Regions from separate parts of the Homo sapiens genome. Here region 2 is linked to region 1. Evidence: promoter capture Hi-C in 16 types of primary human blood cells and fetal thymus (Javierre and others, 2016). All regions are on one chromosome and are shown on one strand. The core of a region is centred on a gene start or on the middle of the fragment in contact, and the rest is flanking DNA. Distances in the headings are between cores, read along the strand shown.

Region 1 (7,530 bases), core at 3,163-5,662:
GAACCTCAGGCAGGACGCACCCAGCACCCGCTCCCTGTCTGAGGGAGGCGGCCTCGGGCCTGAGGGCTGCTGGGGGCCCTGGATTCAAGGGGGTGATCAAGGTGAGATTTCTAAGAAAGTTGCCCTCTTCCCCACCCCCACGGGCTGGTGAGAGTTTCACCAAAATTCCCCCACACGCCCTGGCTGGAGGCCGCCGGGCCCTCCCTAGGGAGCTGAGCTTTCAAAATAAAGTTTGCTGAGAGCCTCGCTCGGCGGGACTGCCCCGGCGCCCCCGGCACGGAAGCCGCCTGGAGGTGGGGGCGCGCCCTGGGCAGCCCGCGCCCGCCGCGCCCGCCGCCGGAGCGCAGCCCGCCAGCCCGACTGGGGAGGGCGGCCCGCGCCGCCGAGGGGCGCGGGGAGGGGGGCGCGCTCGAGCCGCGGGCCGGGCCGCGCGCGCGCCGCCGCTCGGGCTCCTTTGTTCTGGGGCCTCCGCCACTCCGCTCCGGCGGCTTCGCAGCCCCCGCCCCCGCCCCGCCACCCCCGCCCGGCTCAGCCGCACAGCGCCCCGCAGCACCCCAGTCCGGCCCCCCGCACCGGAGGAGCGGCCCCCCGCCGGATCCGGGCCGTCCCCTCCCCCTCCCCCGGGCCGGGCCCCCCGCGCCTCCCGCCGCCCCTCCCCCACTCCGGAGCCGGAAAGGCACCGACTGCACCGACCTGCCCGCCGCCTCCGGGGCGGAGCGCACAAAGGGGCAAAGTTTCCCGGCCCGCGCCGCCGCCGCCACCACCGTCGCGGCCGCCGCCGCCGCCGCCTGGGGCTCCCGCCTCCCGGAGCGCCCGGCCCGACCGAGCTCAGCGCGCGGAGCCCCCCGCCCGGGCCGAGGAGGGGACGGCGCAGGAGGAAGGAAGAGGCAGCGGCGGCCGCGGCGGCAGCAGCAGCAGCAATGAAGGCGTCCGCGGGACTCCCCGCCCCCCGCGCACCGCGGCACGTGCTCGCCCGGGGACTCCCCCGCCCGGGAGGGCGCACACGTGCGGCCCCGCCGAGCCCCGCCGGCCCGGCCGGGCCCCGGGCCGGGCGAGAGGGGGGTGGTTCCCGCGGAGGGGAGGGGTCGGGTGGGCGGCCTGCGAGCGGCTTGGGGCAGGCTCCGGCCCGGCCGCCGCTTCTCTGCACCTGCAGTGGCTCCCACCCACGCGGTCGGCCCTCCCGGGAGGCGGCCGCCCCCTTCGGGTTGGCCACCCTCGCCCTCCGGCGGGGCTGCAGCCGGGGCCGGCGAGGCGGGGTGGGGCACGCGGACCTTCCAGCCTAGGCCCTCGGCCGAGCCTCGCTCGGTGTCCCCACTTCCTGCCACTCCCTGCGGGCCAGATCTGTCCGGGACAGCCCCGGCGCCCCCGGGAGGCCTGAGCGCCGGGCCCGACTGACCCCCCTGTCCCAGCTGCCGCTGGCTCATTCCGAGGCAGGACAATGGGGGACATCGCGCGTTTGCGTACCGAGTCAGCCTGGCCGGCAAGAAGGGGTTGCTCGGGGGCAGAGGCTAAGGGCACCCTCGCAGGGGTCACGGCCGAATGCCCTGTCCAGGTGGACCCCACGGCCCTGCCATCACCAGCCTCCCCCGCGCCGCGCTCGATTCTTTCGCGTCGAAAACAAAGACTAATCCGATACCCCCGCCCTGCCTCCCAGAGGAGGGGGAACGGGCGCGTCGCGGAGGGTAACTGAGGAGGACAGCGTTCAGGAGGGCCTCGGACAGCCTCGAGGGGGCCGTGGGGCGACTAAGCCCTAAAACCCGGCGCAGACACTTTGAAGAGTCACCCTGGGCTACGTTCCAGGCAGGGGGTAAGGGGCAGGGCTCAGGAATATTTCCAAGTTGCCAAACTGCCCGTTCTCTCTGCTGCTTTTTTCCCTCACCTGTTGTGCAGGCCAAGTTGAAATTCCAGGTTAGATTAATTCAGCCCCACCCATCTGGCCTGACTGCCAGGCTGGTGCCTGCAACTGCCTTCCACCTACCTCGGTTGCAGGGGAGCAGGGTGGGTCTCTGACATACACGCGCACACACACACTCGGGCGAGTCCTGGCAGAAACAGCCACAGGACGGACTGGCCTGACCAGTTTGGGCGGTGCTCACGGAGCCAGGTACCTGGCAGGCGTCGCCGCCCGGCTGCAGCTAACAGCTTAGCCAGAACTGGAAAAAGAGCATTCGGCCGGCTATTTAGAAAGAAAGAAAAAAAAGTAACTGATCTGAAGTAGCGCTGTCCAGAAAGCCCTAGGCGGTAAAGCAGCCCGGGTTCTATCTGGAACTTCCCTCTGATTTTGACAGCCTGCTCCAGGGTCCAGGTTGTCAGCGAGGGAGTGGGTGGGGGTGAACATGGCTGCAATATCCACTTCCTACCATGGCCTTTGGGAGGACTGAAGAGTTTCTGTTCAGGGTAGTAAGACTAGAACCGAGACGAAAAACCAAGAGAGTGCAATTTTCAAACAGGGGAACAGGTTGCAGACTCGTAATTGTTTTTAATGTAATATATTTTTAATAAGCAACTTTATTAATAAAAAATGTGTATAAAGAAGACGTGGAGACTACAGATACTAGAGGGGAAAAATCACCAAATTACAACCATATTTAACCATTTGCTATATTTCCTTGTAGCCTTTCCTATTTGTGGATTTACTCACACTGATTATACAATTTGCCATCCTCTTTTAACTTAACATTGTACCATAGGCATTTCCCTGTTTGGTATACAGTTTTCAGAAAGTGTGACAGTGAGGTGAAGAAGATGGCTCAGGAGCCAGAGAACTCTGGCTTCCAAACCTGAATCTGCCACTTGGTAACAGTGTGACCTTGGACTAGGTACTCCATCTTCAAGGGAATCCAAGTAAAAGACTTAATATAGGGCTCAATGAATGACAACAACTAATATTGTTTAATCCATATGACAACCTTGTGAGGTAGGTACTATCATCAAACCCATTTTATGGATAAGAAAACAGATTAAATAACTTGCCCAGGATCACTCAGCTAGTAAGTTGTGGACTTTCAGAGGAGCCCAGCAGCCATCCTCTTGTATTCTGTCTGGGTAAATGGCACCAGCAAGTTACTGTGTCATTTACTCTTTGCCAGCAATCTATGAGAGGGTCATTTCATAAAGCCCTCTCGTTTAGGTAACTGGGTGAATGCTGGTGCCATTCACTGTGACAAAATGCAGAAGGAAGGATGCCTGGGGATGGAGACATTCGTGTGAAAGTGAGTGTGCAACTGAGGGGGTGAGGCCTGGGTTTGAGATTTGGGCCCCATCAGTGAGCAGACAGCGAGGCCTCAGTTGTGGAGGAGCTCATCCAGGGTGGATATGGAGTGTGAGAGGGAAAGGCTGCCAGGACAGAGCCCCAGGGAATACCAGCCCATGAGGGACAGGAGCTGAGAAGGCGCCGCCAGAGAGGTTGGAGGGAACCCAGCCAGGCTAGAGAGCTGCCTGTCATATCTTCCCGGCCTCTGGAACCTTACACTTCGGCAGTCCTGTTGCTCATTCCTTCTGCCTGGGGAAAAACCCTTCCCACCCCACCCCTTCTCAGCTACCCCTTGTACCTGCCAAATTCCCACTCATCCTGCAAGTCATAAGTGCCAGTTCCATGAAACCTCCAGCTGCTCAGATGATTCCAGAGCCCCACCCACTCTCCCTCCACAGAAGTTTGACTCTCCCTGCCTAGGAACAGTTATCTCATCGGCGCTGGGCACTGGAATGGTTTGCATGTTTCTTTCCCAGTTACTACAAACTCCTGGAAGGGTAGCACGCTGTCTTTCACCTCATAACCCTAGACCTAGCAACCAACCACTGTGTTGAATGAAGAGACGAGGTGAGTAGACCCTAATGAATGACAGACCCCAGTAACACTGAAGACCCATAGGCTTCTTTCCTGCTTTCTTTACGACTTGCACAAACTGGTCAGGGGCGCCCAAGATAAAACAGCCTAAACTCCTCAGGTCCTGCCTTCTGGTTCTCCAGCCTCCTGGGCTGCTGCGGCTATTCCCATTCACATTGCGCTCAGGGCAGGAGAGCAGCGGGGGTGGGCGTAGGGATAGGGCGAGCCCTTCCTGGGGCTGCATTAGCCTAGACGCAGTGGTTCCGCCAAGAGAGCCCCGGCACCAGCAGCATCACCATCTCCTGGGAACTGGCTAGAAATGCAAGCTCTCGGCCCCATCCTAACCCCACTGAATCAGAAACCCTGGGGGCGGGCCCAGCAATCTGTTTTAATTAGTCCGTCAGGTGAAGTCAAGTTAGAGCAGCACTGGACTACAGCAAGCGGGGGAGAAGGAAGTTCAGCACCCAGGTGGAGACTGCGATTAGGCCCCCAAGGCGCTTAGAGCAGACAGAGGGAGAGAGGCTCCTTTTAGGAGCGGGTTTGGCGGGCGCCACCCCAAGCGGCCAAGGGCGGAGCCTCTTTTAGGCGACTGCTCCCGCGAGGTCAGAGCCGGGCTGTGCCGCTGCCCCCGGGACTAGAAAGGGAAATCTCCTTGCTAGAGGAGGAAGCCCTAAGAACTCAAGGGAGATAGGGGTGGCAGGGGCATTTCCCTGGATGCCTGGAGCATGGAGGGTGCGAAATAAGGAGGCTTTCCTACCCCATTGATGAGCTGAAGTTGATTCCGCACGGGGGAGGAAAGGGACAGGAAGCATAATTGGATGTGCAAGCCTGTGGTTCTTCAGGAAGTTAACACGTGGAACTAACACTGTTGGATGCTGCTGAACTCTCAGGTGATTGATGTGACTAACCTCCTCAGGTACTTGACCTCTCTCCTCTTCAGCTAATGAGTAATTTGTCCTTATTTAAGAATGAGATTTGCGTATGGGGACCTTTTGCAGAAATGTAAATACATCCCGATATCCATACCTGGGCTTGGTTTTAAAGACTGAAGGTATTGGGAGGTTTATTTGATTTTGGATGTATTACTTCTTTGGTCATGTATTGGCTAAAAATATTATCAACTAATATTTGCATAGATCTTTCCCTTTTCAAAGCACTTCCACACACATTATCCTTCTGTCTGCACAGAGTGGCAAATACAACAAATGTGCAAATGTTAACTTTCCTTATCTATGACATAGTTTTTATTATCATCACCATTTTACAGATAAGAGAACTGGCGCTCAGTGAGGTAATTTGTCCAAGGTCATTCACTACTACATGTCAGAATCCAGGACCTACAATCCAGGACCTCTGAAATTAGCCCACGAATGCTAGAGCTGATACCAGGCAGAAGCTGGCATTTTGCTCTCAGGGAAAGGGAGGTTCATTAGTGGGTTGCTTGTGGACCTGCATTGGTGAGTGTGACACGTGTAGGATATCTATGCTATGCGTTTTTGGGTTTTTTGTTTTGTTTTGGTTTTGGGTTTTGGTTTTTTTTTTTTCTTTGAGATGGAGTCTCACTCTTGTCACCCAGGCTGAAGTGCAGTGGCGCGATCTGGGCTCACTGTAACCTCTGCTGCCCAGGTTCAAATGATTCTCCTGCCTCAGACTCTCGAGTAGCTGGGATTACAGGCACCTGCCACCGCGCCCAGCTAATTTTTGTAGTTTTAGTAGAGACTGGTCTTGAACTCCTGACCTCATGATCCACCCACCTCGACCTCCCAAACTGCTGGGATTACATGAGTGAGCCACCGCGCCCGGCTACTACGTTTTTCAATAGCCCCGCAAATGTCCTCATGTTTTATAACTAGTTTTGTGACTGCATTTTGAATTTTTTGAATCAAATAGGCTTCATTACTTGCAAGGAGAATGCAAGGGTACCCATCATAATGGAAGGAATACCCAACAGGGATAAAGGCCTTGGTGCCCCTGAGCCTTGGTTGACAGGGTGTATCAGTCAGGATCAGTTAGATTGTGCTGGAGTAATAGACAATCCCCAAATCACAGTGGCTTTACATAACAAAAGTGTATTTCTCAATCACAAAACGTGTCCATTATGAGTCATTAGGAGCTCTGTTTCCCGTAATCACTCGGGCATCCAGGCTGCTGCAACTGGACATGCATCTCCTCAACCCTGAAGGCAGGAAACAAGAATGGGGCAAATCTAGCACTGGCTCTTAAAGCTTTTCCCTGGAAGTGACACACATCACTCCTGCTGTCATCTCACTGGCCAAAGAAAGTTACAAGGGGGCAGGGAAGTGCAATAAGTACAATCCTGCTATGTGCAGGAAGGATAAGCAGAAGTATTTGGTTAACAGCACTAACACACAGGGAGTGTGTGTGAGTGTGTGAATGTATATGTGTATATTTGAGGTATGTGCAATTACACATACTGCCCATTTCCAGAGCATTCCTCCCTCCTGGCGACACATATTAGAGATTCCTAGTGTAAAGGACTGTCTTACCTTGCACTAGAGCAGGTTCAGAGATTTAAACTAAAGCGAAAAAAAATAAGAGTTGAAGGAAACATAGTAGAAGAGGTGAGTGGCTGTGGGACAAACTCAGTAGAAATTCGTTTGTAAATAGAGAAAGAAATCCAGGAAAGGAAGGTACTCAGGGTGTATGACACAAGGAGCCTGCCTACTAAAGGAAACTTCTAAAACAGCGTAGCTTTAGCAGAGGCGTTTCCTGCCGCCTTGCCATTAACTCCCACTCATCCTTCCTGGTTAAACTCAGGTGACGCTTCAGGAAGCCTTTGATGATCTCTCAAGATTGGGTAAGGGGCCCACCAATCAGATCACAGGTATGCCTGGGTCTGTCCCATCCCCTCAGCTGTGGACAGGACCACATCTTACTCAGTGCCAGCTGCTATATAGAGAATACATTAGAGGAGGGTGTCAGAATAGAGGCAGAGAGAGCAGCTAGAAGGCTGTTGCAGAAACCTAAGTGAGAAAACAAAAATGATGGTCTCCATTAGGGTAGTGGTGGTGGGGAGGGAGAGAGGTATCAAGAAAGATTTACGAAGTCAAACCCACAGGACGAGGGCATAGGAAGGGAGGTTTCTGGAAGAACAACAGGGTAGTTGGTAGTGCCAGGGGGCCCAGAGAAGGTGGAAGTTGATCAATGAGGTCAGCAAGAACACATCCCATTTGAGGTCCATTTTGACAGCGCCCACAGAGAGACCCAGGAGCAGCCCCTGTCACAGCCTGAGATTCCGGGGGGGGGGAGGGGGGCGGTGGAAACCAGGTCCTATGAGCTGCCTCTTGGTTAAACTCTAACATCGAATCAAGGTTAGTATTTTCTTGTTTAAAAAAATATCAAGCCGGGCCTGGTGGCTCACGCCTGTAATCCCAGCACTTTGAGAGGCCAAGGCAGTCGAATCACTTGAGCTCAGGAGTTCAAAACCAGCTTGGGCAATATAGTGAGACCTCAACTTTACAAAAAAATTAGCCAGGTGCAGTGGTGCACACTTTGAGGTGAGAGGATCACTTGAGCCCGGGAGGTTGAGGCTTCAGTGAGCCAAAATTGTGCCATTGCACTCCAGCCTGGGCAATGGAGTGAGACCCTGTCTCAAAAAAAAAAAAAAAAAAAAAAGTATGTGTGTTGGGGGAGCGGGAAACACAGAAAATACATATAGTATAAAAGTGGTGAAATTCCTGAAC
Region 2 (6,896 bases), core at 1,272-3,771, 440 kb before region 1:
TCTGGCTTTATCACTGAACCTGGTTGCTGAAGACTAGGAAAATGTAGATTTGCCCAAAGCCATCCACCTGTTTAGTGGCAGAGCCAAGACTCAAAGCCAGGTCCCCTGCCTCCCAGGGTGGGGAAGGCTCCCAGATGGGTAGGGGAAGTCCACTCACCTGTCCCTGGGCAGGCTCGGTGGCAATGTCTGTGATTGGCATCTGGTGCCCAGCCAGCTCCTCGCTCAGTACAATGTTGGGACCCTTTGCTGGGATGTCAAACACCAGCACCCGGCCTGACCACGTTCCTGTATCCAGAACCAGTACTCCAGTGATGACTTCCTGACCCTCCTGGGTCTCCAGCCACCATACTCAACACTTACTCCATCCCAGAAACCTTAGTAACAAAACCCCCTCTCACTGCTCCAACGGCCATGCCCCTTCATTCACTAGCCTTGTCTTATCCCACCCTGACCCTCTGAACCCTTCCATGGTTTACTGGAGTCTCTGATTCCACTCCACTTCCACCCTTCCCTCTAACTTTCCACAATTTCCTCAGGCCCTCATTATTCTCCTGGCCACAGCCCACATGCCCCAGCACCCCTCCATGCCCTGCACTTGGCTCCCTCACCCACACAGATGAAGTGGCCACTGGCAGCAATTCCCCGGGCAAACACAGCCTGTACTGAATATGAAAGGGGAGAATGATCAGAAATATCCCCTCCTGCAGCCCTAGCAAACACTCCCTGCCCCCACCCCACTTGGTCCTGCAGGTACCTGGGGAGGCATCTCCAGAGTCCAGTGCATGCCAGTAGACCATGGTGTAGCCATTGGACTCGTACATCTGGAAGACCGGGGCAAGAACCAGGGGGCATAACCCAACTGACCTCTGCTGAGTACTTCACATATCCGTGTTAGCCTTAGCCCATTTAATCCTCAAAACAAATCTGGGATGTAGGTACTATTTTTATCCTAATTTTTTCAGAGGACAACAGTGAGAGTGAGAAGTTAATAGTGTAAGGACATACAGCTAGTAAAGGGGCAGATACTGGAGGTGGCACTTGGAAACTGGAAAAGATGGAAAGATTGAAGATAAGAAATAGAAAAAGAGTGAGTGGGCCAAGCATGTGAAAAGTCTGGAAGTGTTTAGAGGCAAGTGGGAAAGTCTGGAAGCCTGGCAGGGAAGCTGAGAAGGCTCTGGTGGGGCAAGCAGGAGAGTCCTCTTCTTACCTGTATTCCTCGATGTGAGGTGAGTACCAGCAGCACTCGGAAGGGGAGGACACACCAGTGGACCTGGAGGGAGGTGCATCAGTGTAGGGAGAAAATCAAAGCAGGGAAGATGAGTTTGTTTGTTTTTTTTTTTTTTTTGGGGGACGGAGTCTTGCTCTGTGGCCCAGGCTGGAGTGCAGTGGCGCCATCTCGGCTCACTGCAACCTCAGCCTCCTGGGTTCAAGCGATTCTCCTGCCTCAGCCACCCAAGTAGCTGGGATTACAGGTGCACGCCACCACACCCGGTTAATTTTTTTTGTATTCTTAGTAGAGAAGAGGTTTCACCATGTTGGCCAGGCTGGTCTCGAACTCCTGGCCTCAAGTGCCCGTCTCAGCCTCCCAAAGTGTTGGGATTACAGGCGTGAGCCACCGCGCCCGGCAGGAGAGGGGAGATTCTGAGGTTAGGACATGCCTGGGGAGATTCTGAGGTTAGGACATGCCTGCTCCTGAAGGTTTGGAGAGAAAAGGCTGGGGGTAGGACTGGGTTCAGCAACATCACTCCCAGCTCCATGCCTCACCTGAGTGATAAGTGGGGGACTCACTCCAGCACCCTCCTTAGCGTGGAGCTGGCGCTGGGCCAAGGGCACACCCTCAGGAGCAGCGCTGAGAAGCTGGGCGCTTGGTCCATGAACCACGCCAAAATACGTGAGGTTGCGAGCCGGCAGCTGCAGCACACTGAGGTTGTTGCACAGGGCGGCGGCCGAGCCTCGCAGGGGAATGGAGCGCTCCCAGCGGAACATCCTGTGTGGGGGTGCAGCCGAATCACCAGGCGCGCTACAAACAGACGCAGCGGAGATGCCCGAGGGCGGCTATCATCGAGCATTTCGGAAGATGCCTGAGACTGGGTCATAGGATGGGGTGCCCAGAGGACGGTGATGGGGGAGGGTCTCGAGGAGCAAGACAGGGGAGTCCCAGGGCTGTTTTGGGGCGACGGGGGAATCGCAGAGGAGGAATGGGGATGACACAGGACCACCCGATGGCCCCAAGCCCGCGAGCCAAATAAGTGTGATGAAGCCCCCAAGGCTTTCTCCCTCGGCTCGGATCCCTGAAGCCCCCGGCCTAGATCAGAGGTAACACCTGCAGCCCCAGATCGGCTCGCCTGACTCCTGGTTCGTAGGGTCCCTCCAAATCCGCCGCCACCATAGAGACGACGCACGTACGCACGGCCCTTGGGCGGGGTGAGCGGCCGGAACGTGCCGCGGGCGGCGCGGTTGCCGGGGCAACTGTGGGCGGGGCGAGCGACCCCGAGCCCGTGGTTGCCCAGGCGACTGTTAGGTGGCTTACGCGGCCCGGATGCAGCAGAAACACCAGCGTTGCTGCGACCGCGTTGGCGATGGCGCACGAAGGCTCGGTGAGCTTCAGTTCAGCTGGGGATGCGCCAGAGCCAGGGTCGGCCGTTAAGGTCGGTGTCGGGAACAGTGGGCTGGCTCTGGGCCGCCCAGTGCCCCTACTTGCTCCCGCCCACCGCGCGGGAGTTTAGATGACCAAGGAAGCCACGTCGGTACTCGGGCAGAAAACCTACACCTGCACGGTGCCCACTCAAACGCTTTGTTACACTCAAGCCATGAGGGAAAGGGTCAGTGGGTGGTGTAGAGCCCGAGAACAGGAAGTGGATTTTGAAACAGCTAATGAATGTAGTAAGTCTCTTACATGGTGGTGCGTATTTAAATGGATGAGCATTTAGAGAGGGAAGATAACAGAAAAAATCTATTTCGAGAATTTCAAGAGGAAGAAATATATTAAATAATTCAGAGACTGCACTTGAAAGTCAAATTGTTTAAGAGCCAATCAATTTTAAAATAAAGAAAACGGGGCCGGTCTCAATGGCTCATGCCTGTAATCCCAGCACTTTGAGAGGCTGAGGCGGGAGGATTGCCTGAGCTCAGGAGTTCAAGACCAGCCAGGCCAACATGGCGAGACCCCGTCTCGACTAAAATACAAAAAATTAGCTGGATGTGGTGGCGCGGTGCCTGTAATCCCAGCTACTCGGGAGGCAGAGGCAGGAGAATTGCTTGAACTCGGGAGGCGGAGGTTGCAGTGAGCCGAGATCGCGCCACTGCGCTCTAGCCTGGGTGACAGAGAGAGACTGTCTCAAAAAAAAAAAAAAAAAAAAAAAAAAAAGAAGAAGAAGAAAGAAAACGGATTTGAAGAGCCTTTGTGCAAAAATATCTCTGTCCCTTCTGGTCACCATCACGGGTGTCAGATGCGAGGCTGGGAGGGGAGGTCTAAGGAAACAACTCTCTTTACTCAGTCCAGTCAGCCCTGCTCTAGTCAAGCTTGGCCTGGGCTATGGGCCACTCCTGGTGCTTGCTACAGGGCTGTTCTCACTGGTGGATAGGGTTAATGAGACTTCAGGGATTTTGAGTTCTGCAAGACTTAGGAAACAGCAGATTTGGGGGGATAATGAATTTTAGGAAACAGATATGAGACAAGGTTTTAGCGGGGCAATAGGCAAAGGTTTGGGAAGATCACATTTGGAAGTACATTTTGGAAGGAACCAGGTTCAGGGAGACTGTTGTGGGGAATTGAGGGAGCTCCCAAGAGATTGTTTGTAAACTTTTTATGTCTCTAAAGTGAGTTTTGGGGACTAGTCTTTTTTTTTTTTTAAGTGATTACAAAAGGAAACAAACTCATTGTAGAGAACTTACAAAATAGAAAAGAGCATAGGAAGGAAACGTATCCTCTGTTATCATTTTGAAGTTTTCCTTTTGTTGAACACATAGTGGTTTACATATATGAGATCATAATTGATGTGTAAGTTTGTATCCTGCTTCTTTCAATTAACGTTACATCATAAACATTTGCTTTATGCCATTGCAAATTCTTTCTAAAGATTACCTTTAATGGCTGGGTTGGTGGCTCATGCCTGCAAGGTGGGCAGATCACTTGAGGCCAGTTCAAGACCAGTCTGGCCAACATGGCGAAACCCCATCTCTACTAAAAATAGAAAAAAAATTAGCCAGGCCTGGTGGCAGGCGCCTGTAATCCCAGCTACTCCGGAGGCTGAGGCAGGAGAATTGCTTGAACCTGGGAGGCAGAGGTTGCAGTGAGCCGAGATCTTGCCACTGCACTCCAGCCTGGGTGACAGAGCGAGATTCCGTCTCAAAAACAAAAACAAACAAACAAAAAAAGATTACCTTTAATCATTGCATAATATTTCAGTATATATAGCATGTCAATTATTTATTCTCTTTTTAAAGACATGTTTTCAATATTCTGCTATTATAAAAATACCGCAGAGAATTTGTTGGAGAATATATTTTTATCTTCATTTCAGAAAATGCCTTTTGGTTGTATTTATAGAACTGAAATTGCAGGGTTGAGGAAGTGAAAACATTTTTTAATGTCTTCATGCATACTGTTGCAGCATGGTATCACACTAAACCTTTGCCAATGCTGAGTATTCTTGTTTTTAAAATAATTCCAATTTGATGAACTAGAAATCAGAATGTCAATACTATATTTATTAGTCATCTACAGTCCCTCTCTTGTGAAATGTCATGTCCTTTGCTTATCTTTGGGATCTTAAATGGTTTTTCTTCTTATAGTTTAAATTTTTATTGCAATATAGCCCAAGCTGGACTTGAACTCCTGGGCTCAAGCAATCCCCCTGCCTCAGCCTCCCGAGCAGCTGGTACTGTGGGTGTGCGCCACTGTGCCTGGCCATTTTTCTTCTTCTATTTTTTATTTTATTAGTTTTTTTTTTCTTTTTTGAGACAGAGTCTCGCTCTGTCACCCAGGCTGGAGTTCAGTAGCATGATCTCAGCTCACTGCAAACTCTGCCTCCCGGGTTCAAGTGATTCTCGTGCCTCAGCCTCCCTAGTAGCTGGAATTACAGGCGCCCACCACCATGCCTGGCTAATTTTTGTATTATTAGTAGAGACGGGGTTTCACCATGTTGGCTAGGCTGGTCTCGAACTCCTGACCTCAAATGATCCACCCACCTCGGCCTCCCAAAGTGCTGGGATTACAGGCGTGAGCCACTGCGCCCGGCCATTTTTTTTTTTATATGAGCTTTTAATTTACTCGGGGATATTTATCTTTTTTCATATTTGTTGCAAATGTCTTTGAGAGGCTCTGGAGTCAGACAGACTTGCATGTGAATGCATTCTGACTTCACTACATCCTACTTGTATGATACTGGGTAAATTACCATAAAATGGAGATAAGAATAGTTGGTTAAAAAAAAAAAATGTAGAGAACTTTTTAAGCTCCCCTGAGCCGGGGCTGTGCTCTTCTAAGTGGGACTCCGAGCCTGGGCTATTTCTGGCGCTGGCGCGGCTCCAGGAAGGCATCCGCATTTGCGACCAGGGGCGGCTGCGGTGGAGACTGGCCTGTCCTCAGCGCCCAGCACCGCTGCTCCCGGCAAACCGGAGCATGCACCGCAGGCCAGCGGCCGAGTTCGCCCATCCCAGCCATCACTTTTCCAACTAGTCCTTAGAGAAGGGAAGATGAGCGAGTCGAGCTCGAAGTCCAGCCAGCCCTTGGCCTCCAAGCAGAAAAAGGACGGCACTGAGAAGCGGGGCCGTGGCAGGCCGCGCAAGCAGCCTCCGGTGAGTCCCAGGACAGCGCTGGTAGGGAGTCAGAAGGAGCTCAGCGAAGTGCCAACACCTAAGAGACCTCGGGGCCGACCAAAGGGAAGCAAAAACAAGGGTGCTGCCAAGACCGGGAAAACCACCACAACTCTGGGAAGGAAACCAAGGGGAAGACCCAAAAAACTGGAGAAGGAGGAAGAGAAGGGCATCTCGCAGGAGTCCTCACTGGAGGAGCAGCTTCCTTCTGGGACTGGACAGCTTTGATCTGCTCCCAACCCCCCACCTCCCACCCCCCACCCCTTCCCTACACCCACCATCACCACCGCCTCCAGCCACCACCCTCATCTTCCACCTGCACCTTCACCACCACACTACACAACACACCAGCCGCTGCAGGTCCCTATGGGCTGAGTGGAGAGGACTTTTCCCCTGGCCTCTTCCCATCCCTACCCCCTCCTCCCCCCGTCCACCCACTCATACACATGTGCCCTCCTGGACAAGGCTAATGTCCTGCTTAGCCGCACCCTGCACCTGCTGCGTCCCTGATCCCTTGGTGGTGACATTGCTCTCTGGGCTTTTGGTTTGGGAGCCACTTCTCTGCTCCTCCACTGTTGCCTCTGGCTTCCCATAGAGGGGCCTGGGAGGGTTCCCCTGGTCTTAAAAGGGGCCCAAGCCCCCATTCTGGCACACCCCACTCCACTGTCCTGGCAGCAGCAGGTGTGGCCAATGGAGGGGGGTGCTGGCCCCCAGGATTCCCCCAGCCAAACTGTCTTTGTCACCACGTGAGGCTCACACCTTTCATCCTTCCCCACCTTCCCTAGTCCCTGCACTAGGTTGGACAGCCCCCATTGGCTACAGGAAAGCGGGAGGGGTGTGAGTCCCCTACTCCCTCTTTGCAGTGGCCCCAGCCCCCTTACCGTCTGCCTGGGATCTGAGTACATATTGCAGTGATGGAGATGCAGTCACCTATTGTCCAGGTGAGGCCCATGAGCCCTGTGGCAGCTACCTGAGGTGGGCTGGGGCTGCTCCCCCAACCCTACTTTGCTTCTACCACTTGGCCATTTTCCTCTCCTCAGATGGGGCACCAATAACAAGGAGCTCACCCTTCCCACTCC

The links. Contacts are between HindIII fragments. The CHiCAGO score rates a contact against its expected background, and 5 or more counts as called.
Region 2: the fragment with the promoter of C2orf81 here is called in contact with the fragment with the promoter of DGUOK-AS1 in region 1 in 3 of 17 cell types (fetal thymus, naive CD4 T cells and naive B cells); the score reaches 6.1 in fetal thymus.

What each region holds. Positions count from the first base shown.
Region 1 is chr2:73,978,321-73,985,850 of GRCh38, reverse strand. DGUOK-AS1 (DGUOK antisense RNA 1) reads left to right here and starts at 4,412. Exons shown (of 2, transcript NR_104030.1): 1 at 4,412-4,716. It overlaps TET3 (tet methylcytosine dioxygenase 3), which reads right to left and starts at 941. Exons shown (of 12, transcript NM_001287491.2): 1 at 694-941. RefSeq lists silencers at 229-398, 822-1,020, 779-1,468 and an enhancer at 1,642-2,565. The HindIII fragment of the contact is 8,489 bases long and covers 1-6,053 here.
Region 2 is chr2:74,417,244-74,424,139 of GRCh38, reverse strand. It overlaps C2orf81 (chromosome 2 open reading frame 81), which reads left to right and starts at 2,521. Exons shown (of 3, transcript NM_001316764.3): 1 at 2,521-2,597. The coding sequence starts at 2,580. It overlaps WDR54 (WD repeat domain 54), which reads right to left and starts at 2,410. Exons shown (of 10, transcript NM_032118.4): 1 at 2,324-2,410; 2 at 1,765-1,987; 3 at 1,208-1,270; 4 at 755-821; 5 at 609-662; 6 at 158-285. The coding sequence starts at 1,986. It also overlaps the pseudogene HMGA1P8. RefSeq lists an enhancer at 1,731-1,910 and a silencer at 2,311-2,590. The HindIII fragment of the contact is 12,224 bases long and covers 1-3,524 here.